Linked DNA regions of Homo sapiens: all the other regions are linked to region 3. The links are contacts of gene promoters, found by promoter capture Hi-C in blood cells and fetal thymus (Javierre and others, 2016). All regions are on one chromosome and are shown on one strand. The core of a region is centred on a gene start or on the middle of the fragment in contact, and the rest is flanking DNA. Distances in the headings are between cores, read along the strand shown.

The links. Contacts are between HindIII fragments. The CHiCAGO score rates a contact against its expected background, and 5 or more counts as called.
Region 1: a fragment that was not itself captured here is called in contact with the fragment with the promoter of PCDHB1 in region 3 in 1 of 17 cell types (M1 macrophages); the score reaches 5.7 in M1 macrophages.
Region 2: a contact is called between a fragment that was not itself captured here and the fragment with the promoter of PCDHB1 in region 3, in 1 of 17 cell types (M1 macrophages). The highest score is 5.3, in M1 macrophages.
Region 4: a fragment that was not itself captured here is called in contact with the fragment with the promoter of PCDHB1 in region 3 in 1 of 17 cell types (M0 macrophages); the score reaches 5.6 in M0 macrophages.
Region 5: a contact is called between a fragment that was not itself captured here and the fragment with the promoter of PCDHB1 in region 3, in 1 of 17 cell types (M1 macrophages). The highest score is 5.3, in M1 macrophages.

Annotation. Positions count from the first base shown.
Region 1 is chr5:141,331,963-141,334,662 of GRCh38, forward strand. It overlaps PCDHGA1 (protocadherin gamma subfamily A, 1), which reads left to right. Exons shown (of 4, transcript NM_018912.3): 1 at 1-1,143. It also overlaps PCDHG@. Among named protein-coding and RNA genes, the nearest start is that of PCDHGA1, 2.8 kb to the left of the region's middle. RefSeq lists a silencer at 1,708-1,937. The HindIII fragment of the contact is 4,462 bases long and covers 1-2,700 here.
Region 2 is chr5:140,739,338-140,742,037 of GRCh38, forward strand. The region is part of intron 3 of LOC105378198 (a long non-coding RNA gene); the gene reads left to right. Among named protein-coding and RNA genes, the nearest start is that of ZMAT2, 40 kb to the left of the region's middle. The HindIII fragment of the contact is 1,719 bases long and covers 513-2,231 here.
Region 3 is chr5:141,049,969-141,052,694 of GRCh38, forward strand. It overlaps PCDHB1 (protocadherin beta 1), which reads left to right and starts at 1,406. Exons shown (of 1, transcript NM_013340.4): 1 at 1,406-2,726. The coding sequence starts at 1,503. PCDHB1-AS1 (PCDHB1 antisense RNA 1) reads right to left here. Exons shown (of 4, transcript NR_105056.2): 3 at 911-1,202. It also overlaps PCDHB@. RefSeq lists an enhancer at 987-1,815. The HindIII fragment of the contact is 4,524 bases long and covers 1-2,726 here.
Region 4 is chr5:141,353,120-141,355,819 of GRCh38, forward strand. All of the region lies in intron 1 of PCDHGA1 (protocadherin gamma subfamily A, 1), which reads left to right. All of the region lies in intron 1 of PCDHGA2 (protocadherin gamma subfamily A, 2), which reads left to right. The region is part of intron 1 of PCDHGA3 (protocadherin gamma subfamily A, 3); the gene reads left to right. The region is part of intron 1 of PCDHGB1 (protocadherin gamma subfamily B, 1); the gene reads left to right. It also overlaps PCDHGA4 and PCDHG@. The HindIII fragment of the contact is 1,117 bases long and covers 836-1,952 here.
Region 5 is chr5:141,314,420-141,317,119 of GRCh38, forward strand. No RefSeq gene overlaps it. Among named protein-coding and RNA genes, the nearest start is that of TAF7, 5.0 kb to the right of the region's middle. The HindIII fragment of the contact is 2,150 bases long and covers 213-2,362 here.

The sequences.
Region 1 (2,700 bases), core at 47-2,546, 280 kb after region 3:
CAAGGAACTCCAGCTCTATCTACTGAAACTCACATTTCACTACTAGTGACAGATATCAATGACAACTCCCCAGTCTTCCATCAGGACTCCTACTCTGCCTACATTCCCGAAAACAACCCCAGAGGAGCCTCCATCTTCTCTGTGAGGGCCCACGACTTGGACAGCAATGAGAATGCACAAATCACTTACTCCCTAATAGAGGACACTATCCAGGGGGCACCCCTATCTGCCTACCTCTCCATCAACTCCGACACTGGGGTCCTGTATGCGCTGCGATCCTTCGACTATGAGCAGTTCCGGGACATGCAACTGAAAGTGATGGCGCGGGACAGTGGGGATCCGCCCCTCAGCAGCAACGTGTCTCTCAGCCTATTCCTGCTGGACCAGAACGACAACGCGCCCGAGATCCTGTACCCCGCCCTCCCCACAGATGGTTCTACCGGCGTGGAGCTGGCGCCCCTCTCCGCAGAGCCCGGCTACCTGGTGACCAAGGTGGTGGCGGTGGACAGAGACTCGGGCCAGAACGCCTGGCTGTCCTACCGCCTGCTCAAGGCCAGCGAGCCGGGACTCTTCTCGGTGGGTCTGCACACGGGCGAGGTGCGCACGGCGCGAGCCCTGCTGGACAGAGACGCGCTCAAGCAGAGTCTCGTGGTGGCCGTCCAGGACCACGGCCAGCCCCCGCTCTCCGCCACTGTCACGCTCACCGTGGCCGTGGCCGACAGGATCTCCGACATCCTGGCCGACCTGGGCAGCCTCGAGCCCTCCGCCAAACCCAACGATTCGGACCTCACTCTGTACCTGGTGGTGGCGGCGGCCGCGGTCTCCTGCGTCTTCCTGGCCTTCGTCATCGTGCTGCTGGCGCACAGGCTGCGGCGCTGGCACAAGTCACGTCTGCTACAGGCTTCGGGAGGCGGCTTAGCGAGCATGCCCGGTTCGCACTTTGTGGGCGTGGACGGGGTTCGGGCTTTCCTGCAGACCTATTCCCACGAGGTCTCCCTCACTGCGGACTCGCGGAAGAGCCACCTGATTTTCCCCCAGCCCAACTATGCGGACACACTCATCAGCCAGGAGAGCTGTGAGAAAAAGGGTTTTCTATCAGCACCCCAGTCTTTACTTGAAGACAAAAAGGAACCATTTTCTCAGGTAAACTTTTGTGATGAATGTATCAGCTATCTAGAGAAAAATAATTCTTGATTTAACTTACTAGCGTTCGCTCTTTGCTACAGATAGTTCTTCTAACCCATGTATCTTTGTAGCTTTTTATTACAAGTCCTGCAAAATCACGATTGAGTCTACACGTTCATATGCAGGTATATTTATAATTGTTCTTGCACTGAAAAGGAGACTGTGATCATAATGTAGGTGGTTGGGTTGAAGGTATGTGTGAGATGCCATCTCTGTTTGGAAAGAGCACTGCATTAGAAACGGCGATCTAGCTTCTAACATTTTCTTACTTGCCTCTGGGCTAAAAGGTTTGATTAGAAAAGGCTCACCAATATTTAAATGACTAACACTATTTTCAAATTTTCTTTTTATAAGTACCTGCTAATCTACCCCTGAATTTAATGTAGATGTCATCTGTCAGGACACTGTGATAGTTTATTTGGGGACATTTGAAGAGGTGAAGATTGTCTAAAGTAGTATTTTTAGTTGTGTTCATATAAGATTATAGAGATCTATATAAACTGCAATTTTAAATTATTGTTGAATATTTTAGCCTTTTATTCTATCTTTATTATCAGATTTTTTTGGTTTTGAGATGGGGTCATGCTAGAGTGCAGTGGCATGATCATGGCTCACTGCAGCCACTACCTCCTGGGCTCAAGCGATCCTCCCACCTCAGCCTCTCAAAGTGCTGATATTACAGGTGTGAGCTGTGGTGCCTGTACTGAAGAATACGTCTATTTAAGTAATGTATGAAGTAACAAAATGAACAACACAAAATTTATCATGCAACTTGAGAAATATCTTTGAAGCCTCCTGACTTATACATTATACCTGTAATGAAATCAGCTAACAAAAATCAAGTATATATCCTATTTTAATGTGTGTTAACTTTTCAGAAGAAAAAAAAAGTATGGTCGGGGAGTAAGTCCATGCTTTGATGTATTTACTCTGCTCCAATAAAATACAGAGATACATAAAATATAAGAGGAAAGCAAAAGCAAAGTGGTGAGCTAGTCTAAAGCCATGTGAGTTATAGTCTTGGACTTAAAAGCAGAAATTGAAGGTTAGGAAACTGCCTCCAGCAATGTAATAGGGACAGAAGTGCTTCAGACTAGATAAATATCTGGACCAGGCTTACTGCCTGAATCCAAAATAAGCAATGAGGCCCTTCAGCTGGTTAAAAAGGAAAAGAAAGATGCATTAACATGCTGCCTAGCTGGGCGCAGTGGCTCACGTCTGTATTTCCAACAATTTGAGAGGCTGAGGCGGAAAGATCCTTGGAGCCCTGGAGTTCAAGACCAGCCGGACAGGGCGGCCTGCGACTGTAGTCCCAGCTACGCGGGGCGGGGAGGGGCGGGGCGGGGCGGGGCAGGAGCTGACGTGGGAGGATCCCTTGAGCCCAGGAAGTCAAGGCTTCAGCGAACCGTGATCGCGCCACTGCCCTCCAGCCTGGGCGACAGAGCCACACCCTGTTAAATAAATAAATATAATAATAAAAGCTGTTTCCCAATTCCGGTGGTTATAACTTTCTTC
Region 2 (2,700 bases), core at 122-2,621, 310 kb before region 3:
TAATCATATTAACTCTAAATAAGGAGAGTTTTATACTCGTATTAACTCTAAACATACAGAGTTTTAACTCTAAATAAAAAAGTTTCATATAAGAAGGTGTATCTTCTCACTCATAAGTGGGAGCTAAGCTATGAGGCTGCAAAGGCATAAGAATGATACAGTGCACTTTGGGGACTCAGGGGTGTAGGGTGGGAAGTGGGTGAGGGATAAAAGACTACAAATTGAGTTCAATGTATACTGCTCTGGTGACGGGTACACCAATATCTCACAAATCACCACTAAAGAACTTACTCACGTAACCAAATACCACCTGTTCCCCAAAATCCTACGGAATAACCTCCTTATACTTTTCCCCTTCTTTTTCTAACCATGGAGAATGCCATATGAACACCTCAGACCTTTATATTTTTCTCTTGTTGTATACACTGGTTAGGCCCTTTGGAACAATGACGACAGGATGATTAAAGTGATGATAGCAGACATCCCTGTCTTGTTCTGGATTTCAAAGGGAAAGCTTTAATCATTTCACCATTAAGTATGATGTTTGCTTTAGCTTTTTTTTTTTCCCCTGGACACCCTTACCAAGTTACAAATATTCTCTTATATGCCTAAGGATACAACTAATATCTGCTAAAAATCTTAAGATTAATTAAGATTATTTTAAAATCATGAAAGGTTGTTGAATTTTATTAAGTAATTTTTCTGCATGTACATAGATAATCATGATTTTCCCTTTAGTTCATTAACTTTGCATATATACTAATTACTTTTATAATGTTAAGTCAACCTCATATCTTGGAGAAATTCTACTTATGCTGTATTATTCTTTTTTATGTACTACTGGATTTAATTTTCTAATAATTAGTATGGGTTTTTTTTCATTTATTTACATTAATGACATTAGACTGGGCTTTTCCTTTTTTGTGTGTATTTTTTACAATAGGATTCACTATCAGGTTATTTTAGCATTAGAAAATCATTTAGGAAGTGTTCCTTCTTATTAATTAGGATAGTTTGTATATGATTGAAATGACTTAATTTTTCTTTTCTTTCTTTTTCTTTTATTGAGACAGGCTCTTGCTCTCTCACCCAGGCTGGAATGCAGTGGTGCGATCATGGCTCACTGCAGCTTCCACCTCCTGGGCTCAAGCGATCCTCCTGCCTCAACCTCTCAAGAATCTGGGACCACAGGCACATACCACACGCCCAGCTAATTTTTTATTTTTAGTCGCGATGAGGTCTCACTGTGTTGCATGGGATGATCTCGAACTCCTGGGCTCAAGCCATCCTCCTACCTCGGCCTCCCAAAGTGTTGGGATTATAGGTGTGAGCCACTGTGCCTGGCCCTAACAATTCTTTGTTAGATGAATATTCATGTTAACATTTTTATGCCTTTGCAAAATATAATTCCCAGCAGAACATGGTCATATACCATGATTGTCTCCTTTTCTTCTTTCTACTTTTCCTGAAGTTAATGCTTGACTTTTCTTCATGTGCTTAGTTTTCCTTGGACCTCTTGTTAATTTTTTGCACATTCTTCAATAACTCTTAGTACAGTTTTCTATGTGGTATATCATTTCAGGTAATCAGAGAAAGTATTAATACAAAAGAGCTATAAGATACCAGAATGTTTAGGCCCAGATCCAGAGAGGAGTAATTGTTGTGGGTTATTACCTAGTAACCAGGTAACAATGAAGCTCTGGTAGCTTTAAAGACCCAAGGCTGGCATTTGGCAGTTTGGGAGGATTTCATGGGTCTGACTCATGTACTGGCTGTGAAAGTTGATTTGAGCTAAAATGACCCCGGTTTGGTCATCTGGGAAGCACTGAGGCTGGTCCAAGACTTGTGGCAGGTAGCCACTGAGTGGGAGGAGGGAGAGTGAGCCTAGACACAGCTGGGGGAACAGTTTTTAGGGAAAGGAAGACATGGGTTTCTCTCAGTGGTGTGCATCCTCAAATGGGGGCTTCCCAAGTTTGTGTGTCCTGGTCTGGAAGTTGTGGTGGGTAGAAGGAAACTTAAAACTCAGCATCGTTCTTGAACCATTCAGGCCTAGGCTGACCCTACTGCCCAGGGTATACCAACTCATGACACTTATCTGTCAAGGAACTCCAAATTCAATCTACTTTCTGCATTATCTCAGTGATATATTTGCATGCTTCTTCCTGTCTGTGTTTTGGGGGCAGGTTTGATGTCCATGGACCCTCTTTAGTCCTCTATGTATGTCCCCACCAAGCTTATCATTTTCTTGGAGATGGGAGAGAGCCCTTTTTCAAGGAGGGGTCTAAAACGGCATGGATTCCTGAGAAGACTAGGCTGGGTCAGGAGCTGAAGAGGTTTAAGGTTGGGACAGAAACTCTGGAGGTTAGCCTTGGTAAGAGTCTTTTGAGACCTACTCCATGAGTAAATCTGCTCTTCACCAAATTTCCAGATCCCCACAGTTCCTCTGAGCAGCTTCTCACTACTGTCATCTCTCCCAGATATGAACCAAATCCCTGGTTGCCAAGACAAGTTGACAAGGTTTGAAAAAGAAACTATTTTGAAACAGAACTTCAAGGAAAAATAAGAACCCATTCTCAGGCAAATCCTAGCAGCTTTGATTAGTAAAGAAACAGCAGTCCTTGTTTGATTCAGACAGTTTATTACTTACATAGACACAAAAGGAAATAAGCAGAATTTCCAGCTCTCCCACAGGACAGCACC
Region 3 (2,726 bases), core at 156-2,655:
AGATTCATTAATTCCCTCATGTCAGGATGTAATTAATGTTCTGTACACTTTCTACTTTCATTCTTTTTTTCCTATTGGAAAATATAGTTAGATTTCCGTTAAGTGGCCATAATTTTATAGCACCTGGGACATAAAGTATTGAGCACAAATGAGAAATCAAATGTTTTAGGTAATGAGCATGAGACAGCATCAGAAGACAAGTTCTAGTTCTTACACTGCCATGAGTAGCTGTATGAATTGGGCAAGTGACTTCATCACTTCGGGCCTTAGTTTCTTCATCTGTTTTTTTTTTTTTTTAAAGTGGAGAGTGGGTGAGAAGGAGACTGGATCTCATCTTTCTGAAATGTCTTATTAAACATTCTATTATCCTATGATCATAAAGGAAACTCAACAAATATCTCCTATATTTCTATTAGGTCATTTTCAATATGTGTAAGCAATCTTATTTTATTTGCTTTAAAATCCAAAACCAAATATTTATCTTCATTTGATTTATTCATTATATTATCTGGGAAGCAGAGTAGTGTACTGATTAAGAGCATAGACTTCGGAGTCAGACAAAATTAAATTGAGTTTTATTTCTAACATTTGCTAGGTAGGGGACCTTGACATAACCTCTCCCATCTCACTTTCTTTGTCTTTTTTTTTTTTTAATAATGTCTACTCCATATAGTTGTTGCAAGTATTAAATTAAATAATGCATGTAAATCACTTGTCATAGTCTCAGTACATGGAAATCATATCCAATAAATACTACTGCCATTATAATCATAAGTGACAAGCCAGCTGCTCCCTTTGTGCACGTGTATACAGATATTTGGAGGGGGGCGGAGCGAATACGTAGAAGTAGCATGATAGCGTAGTGCAAATCAAGAGGTCAGTTGGCTTAGTCCCCTGTCAGTGTACTTACTGGACCTCAAGTTTCTGAAGGAGAATGTCTGTTCCCATTCCTTTTCCTACTGACCACTTCCTCCACATTCTCTAGCTCCCTGCCTCATATATTTGGCTTGGGCTTCGGAAGACTCTGCAGGATCCTTGTGCTTCTTTCTTGGTCTCTGGATGGACCGCAGAGTGTGCAGATGTAGCTTAAACTTGTTGCTGTTCGCCCACAGCTTCAGTGGCTCCAGACAGCTAGCAGATAGAATGACTTCAGCTTGAACGACTAATCTCATTGGCTTCTCAATTCCCAAGGACTTTTTTTCCTGAAAGGGAATTAACAGGTGAGTCTGTTGTTGCTTTGGCAACAAACTTTCAACCTCTACCTAACTCTCCGGAATGAGAACATATCTATTAATACATTCGCTAGACTGGGGAGTTGAGTCGCTCAATGCAAATTTTCTTTCAAGTGCAAAACAGCTTAATGGGCTCGGCTAGCCTTTGGTGGTGCTGCAGTTAGAGGCTAGTGAAGCGGAGAGCAGCTGTTGCAGTAACCTGTTGCAGAAAAGTGAAAGTATATCCGCAACAGTTGGCTCTGATTGCAGAGAGCGCGCTTGTGAGAACTGATGGCGGGTACGCGCAGAAAATCTTTGCAAAACAGGCAAGTGGGATCTCTTCTCATTTTTCTGTGCATATCTGTGGGGGATGCGACAACTATCCGCTATTCAGTGGCAGAGGAAATGGAGAGCGGCTCGTTTGTGGCCAACGTAGCTAAGGACCTAGGACTGGAGGTAGGGAAGCTGGCTGCGCGCGGGGCGCGGCTGGTTTCCGAGGGCAACAAAATGCATTTCCGGCTCCACCGCAAGACGGGAGATTTGTTTGTGAAGGAGAAACTGGATCGGGAGTCACTTTGTGGCAAAGCCGACCCTTGTGTTCTGCACTTTGAAGTAGTCCTGGTGGAGCCGCTGCAGTCCTTCCGGGCCGAGGTCAGGGTATTTGATATCAATGACAATGCCCCAGTTTTCCTAAACAAGGAGCCGCTTTTAAAGATTCCGGAGAGCACCCCTTTGGGTTCACGTTTTCCTCTGCAGAGCGCCCAGGATCTGGACGTGGGCCTTAACGGTCTCCAGAACTACACCCTGAGTGCCAATGGGTATTTCCACCTGCACACCCGCTTCTGCAGCCACGGGCCTAAATATGCTGAGCTGGTGCTGAACAAACCCCTGGACCGAGAGGAGCAGCCTGAAGTCAACTTGACAATTACGGCGGTGGACGGCGGGTCCCCGCCTAAGTCTGGCACAGCTCACATCCACGTGGTGGTTCTGGATGTCAACGACCACGTGCCCCAGTTCTCGCGACTGGTGTACAGAGCCCAGGTATCAGAGAACAGCCCCAATGGCTCTTTGGTGGCCACGGTGACTGCCGTGGACCTAGACGAGGGCACCAACAAAGCGATAACTTACTCTTTAGCTCAAAACCCAGAAGCAATTCTCAAGACGTTTCAGATTGACCCTCAAAATGGAGAAGTTCGACTAAGAGGACCCCTCGATTTTGAAGCCATTGAAACATACGACATTGACATTCAAGCTACAGATGGTGGAGGCCTCTCTGCCCACAGCAAAGTCCTGGTAGAAGTGGTGGATGTGAATGACAATCCTCCCGAAGTGATGGTCTCCTCTGTGTCCAGCCCACTCCCTGAAGACTCACCACCACAGACAGTAGTAGCCCTTTTCACTATCAGAGACCGGGACATTCGAGTGGGAGGAAAAGTCACCTGCTTCCTCAGAGAAGACCTTCCCTTTGTAATCAAACCTACATTTGGGAATTCTTACTCACTGGTCACTGACAGA
Region 4 (2,700 bases), core at 144-2,643, 300 kb after region 3:
TTGATTGCTCAGTAGTCTTGGCAATTTAATTTTCAATCTTTACTGTTGGCATTTCTGTATGGTTGGCAAATCTTGCTAAAGAGACCTGTTTCCTAGATGTTAACACTTAGTAATAGCAGTGCCTTTTCTTAGTTGATATGCAATACTATATTTTCAAGTCATTTTATTCTTAGCTCTTTATAAATGTATTTAGAGTTCTTCCCACCCAAGTTAAAGTTCATCAATTACATTAATTATGTAATTGATGTAATTATGTATTAATGTAATTATGTAATTAATGTAATCTTCATCAATTACATTCTAGTTTGTCTTTTTGCAGCAACATGTATGTTTAATACAGCCTTCCAATTATTAAGACTCTTAACACTTTGTCTCATCACAAGTAGCAAATATTGTCCAATTTTATATTTGCATCACTAACTTTGAGTCAATATTATTCCCACTCTATAATTTCAGTCAATGATATTTCATAATTTTCTTAACCATTCCTAAATTATTTGTTTTTATGCTCTTTCTATTTTGTCTCTATTAAAACAAAGAATGTAATGAACATTTGGGTTTATAAAGCGTTTTCCATACTTCTTGTTTCTTTAGTGTAGATTTCTGAGGAATTAGTTAAATCTATAAACATGTTGAGATTTTTTTAATGCATACTGTCAAATTTATTTCCAAACATCTTATTTCACCTCTCAATCATCCGCAGTTTGTGCGGTCTTTGAGGATTGTGAAAAACACGTTTAATCTACTCTCTCAAAGTCTGAGGGTTTTTAAATTCTGTATAGCTAATGCCCTTTTGTATGAGTCATTTCTACTGCTAATTGTTAAGTGAGGAATAAGCTTAAGAACTGATGTACTGCTTTATCTCAAATTTTCACAGATTAGTAAATTACTGTAAGTATTCATAAGAAAGAAAGCGATGGCACATGCAATGATAATCCATGTTCGGCTACCAAAACATTTCCTTTTACTGGCTATTTCTAAAATGAGAGCTAAAGTAAAGTTAGAAATTGTAAAATAATACTGAATGTGTCATGTGAAAAAATCACTAAACTATTATCTGCACTTTATAGTTATTCAGTCTAACTTTTCTTTTTATTTCTTTTTTATTTTTAAGATCAGAGTTATTTACCCATTGTTTTAGGCTTTGCATTTGAACTGGTCATTCATGAAACATTGAAAGGTTTCATAAAAATTACTACTCTATGAAAGGTATTGTTCTAAAGATTGAGAACACATTGTGAACAAGATAGTCATATGCATAGCTTGTGGCCAAGAATCTACTGTACACAAAATTAAGGAGCAAATTCTCTTCCCAAACCTATTATCCTATTTGTCAATCTCATTTGTACAGGGTAAGGCTAACTCTTGAACAGTAGGTGAGTTTTTTGCAAGGGAATTGAAGCATTGCCCCAGGTTCTAGAGGGTCAACTCCTGTGAGGAAACTTGTTACTGCATAAATTGGGACTAAAGCCAGACCTCCAAGTTCCTGTCCCACTGTCTTTTCACTTATCTGTCTCATCCATTTTTCAAGTCCACCTTTGTCTTTAGGAGAGATAATTATGTCCCTCACACAATACGCTATACTGAGAATGGGCTGTGGGGATGAACAATGTGAAAACTGAAAAGAGGAAGAACACATCTTAGGAAAAAAATCGTCATATTTTCTCTAAGAAAATAAATAACTTCATAAAGTTTATTGTACAGGAAGACTTGGATCATTCTTGAATTTTCATTGCAAATCAAAAACAGGAATTTGACTTTATTATCTTGGGAGAAATAGGAATAGAAAAGTGTATAAAAAATAAACTTTTTTTAACCAAGAATAAATTGCAGTAACAGGTTAAGACTCTGGGTGTCGCTGTTCACCAATCAGGGGGAAAAGACAAACCAGAAATTTAATCAGAATCACAAGATTTCTGCAGCACAAAGCACTGGCTCTGGAGCTTTATGAAAGCTTCAAGCGGAAGCCCTGAGAGCTCTGGCTGTGAATGCACTTTATTTTGGACCCAGAAGATCCTGGGGCTCCTCAGGCCTCGACAGAGGGAAAACCGAAGCACAGGCGACTCCGCGGCGGGGTTGTAATGGCGGCGCCTCCTGCTCGCCCAGACCACACCCGGCTGCTCCAGATCTGCCTTCTCCTGGGGGTTCTGGTGGAAATCAGGGCCGAACAGATTCTCTACTCGGTGTTTGAGGAGCAGGAAGAAGGCTCAGTGGTGGGCAACATCGCCAAGGACCTGGGGTTGGCGCCCCGGGAGCTGGCGGAGCGCGGAGTCCGCATCGTCTCCAGAGGTAGGACGCAGCTTTTCGCCCTGAACCCGCGCAGCGGCACCTTGGTCACCGCGGGTAGGATAGACAGGGAGGAGCTCTGCGACAGATCTCCAAACTGTGTGACAAACCTGGAGATTCTTCTAGAAGATACAGTGAAGATTTTGCGGGTAGAGGTGGAAATAATCGATGTTAATGATAACCCACCCAGTTTTGGGACAGAACAGAGGGAAATAAAAGTTGCTGAAAATGAAAATCCTGGGGCAAGATTTCCTCTTCCTGAAGCTTTTGATCCGGATGTAGGTGTAAACTCCCTGCAGGGTTACCAGCTCAACTCAAACGGTTACTTTTCCCTGGACGTGCAAAGTGGGGCCGATGGGATTAAGTACCCAGAGCTGGTGCTGGAACGCGCTCTAGATCGCGAGGAAGAGGCGG
Region 5 (2,700 bases), core at 38-2,537, 260 kb after region 3:
AGAATTAGATTGAATGGCCAGATAGGGTTACCAGAGAAAATAAGGGTTGAGTTGGGCCTTCAGTGACAAAAAGCTATCCATGAGAATATCTGGTGACTATTCCAAGAAAAGAGAACTGTAAGTGCTAAACTGTAGGAGGAAAGAGCTGAGTAAATTTGTTTATGCTGCAGATAAATTTGAAGCAAACCGTTTCTGCTGTAACCTAATTTATAAGCTTTCATTTAGAATTTTTTTTCCCATCTGAATTTGGTTGAAACTGATCTCTAAAATTTCTTAAATTTGAAAACAATTACATTTAGAATAGTTGTTTCCCTATAAACACTTTTTCTAACATTTCAGTCACTCTTTAATTATTTAGTATCTGTTATGGTCCATACCTTAATGGGTTGTAATAGTGGTAAATTTACTTCTGTTGTTTACTTACTATGTTCCAGGCATTGTTCTAAATAAGTCATTTATATGATTCAGCAGCCAGCAGCCAACAGCCCAATAACCCTATGAGGTAGGTAGTATTATTGCCTCCACTTTGGAGATGAGAAAATTGAGGTAAACAGATTGCTACCTGTGCAAGGTCACACAACTAATAGGTAACTGAGCTAGGATACGAACCATGCATGACATGTCTTGATGTTAAGATTTTGATCTTTCTACTATTCTTCAGTAAGTTTACAGTCACTAATGTAGCAAAATATCTCAGTAAATTTAAAGCCAAGCAGGAGATACGAACAAAGGTAATTTACACTTTAGTTATAACAGATACTCATCCCAGTAGACCGTGCAGTGCATGAGTTTATAGACACTAAATGCTTTGTTCATCACTGCATATCCAGTAGCTTGTAGTTTGGTGCGCGCGCACACACACACACACACACACACACACCCCTTGTAGTTTGGCACACACACACACAAAATGTTTGTCAAATAAATGAGAGAGGGAAGAACAAAGTGCAAAGCCGTAATAGGGTTGCTTAACCTAGAGGGAGAAAAGGGTCAGAAAAGCCTTGCTGAAGTCACTTAGGTTGAGACCTGAGGGTTAAGTAGGACTCAGACAAAGGGTAAAGTCATCTAGGTGGAGTGAACTGCTTGTTAAAAGGATCTATGGCCCAGGAGTGGGAGAATGAGTAAGCTCCTTGAAAAAAATGTAAGTTCAGAGTGGACTGACCATATACTGAATGCGGAGCTGAGGCTGAAAAGGTAAATGGAGAACTCATAATCTTGTGCATCTTTTTGAGAAATACAAACCTAGCCCTGAGAGCAATGAGATGTCACTGAAGGGTTTTCAGCATGGTAGTAACACAATCAAATATGTCTCAGAAAAATGAGTTTGGTGGCAGTGAAAACTAAATTGGATGGTAAAGAAGCTATTGCCATTTGATAGATAATAATAATGGCTTGAAATAGGACAGTGGCTGTAAGGATGAAGTAGAGTGAGTGAAGAACTTCTTAAGTAAAATCAAAAGTAGCAAGGGAAAGGGAGAAATGTAAAGTTATGGCTCTAGTGTCCAGCTTCCACAGTTGGGATGTGTGGTGGTGCCATTTATTTTTACTGGAACCCAGAAGGAAAAGCAAATTTTCAAGGAAGAGGAAAAGTTCCATTTTGAACCTGTATTTTTTTTTTTGAGATGGAGTTTTGTTCTGTTGCCCAGGCTGGAGCACAGTAGCATGATCTCGGCTCACTGCAACATCCACCTCCCAGGTTCAAGCTATTCTCCCACCTCACCCTCCCAAGTAGCTGGGATTACAGGTGCCCACCACCATGCCCAGCTAATTTGTTTTGTATTTTTAATAGAGATGGGTTTTGCCATGTTGGCCAGGCTGGTCTTGAACTCCTGACCTCAGGTGATCCACCTGCCTCAGCCTCCCAAGGTGTTGAGATATAGGCATGAGCCACTGCACCCGGCCATTTTGAACATTTACACTTGAGTTGCCTGAGAGATACTTTCAAGTATGTTTCTAGTACACATCTGGCTAAACTAAACCTGAAGCACAGAAGAATCAAGGTTGGAAACGTGGATTTTAGAATCCACTTAGAACTCATAACTGAAACAGGAATAGTGAGATCAATATACTATTTTGTTATTGTATCCAGAATCTTTCCTTTCTGTTATTGATGGAACTGCCACCATTGGTGTTGAGACCTTGGTAAGAATAAACTACTTGATAAATGATCCACTGTAAAGCCAGATATGGTGGGAGCTTTTCAGGTGTCAATCTTCTAAGTGTAGCAAAATACCTAGATTACAAAAACAGTAAATTTTGTCACCTAGCATCCTAAACTGTTTTTTTGTTGTTGTTTAATATATATTATTTGGAAACCTCAAGAAATAATATAAAACCTAGATATTGAGGGAAACCTTGCTTAAGCTTACATATTCTGTGCTAAAATCCTAGTCACGGCCAGGCACGGTGGCCCACGCCTGTAATCCCAGCACTTTGGGAGGCCGAGGCGGGTGGATCACAAGGTCAAGAGATCAAGACCATCCTGGCCAACATGGTGAAACCCCGTCTCTACTAAAATTACAAAAATTAGCTGGGCTTGGTGGCACATGCCTGTAGTCCCAGCTACTCCAGAGGCTGAGGCAGGAGAATCGCTTGAACCCAGGAGGCAGAGGTTGCAATGAGCCAAGATAACGCCACTGCACTCCAGCCTGGCAACACAGCAAGACTCCATCTAAAAAAAAAAAAAAAACTTACTCATAA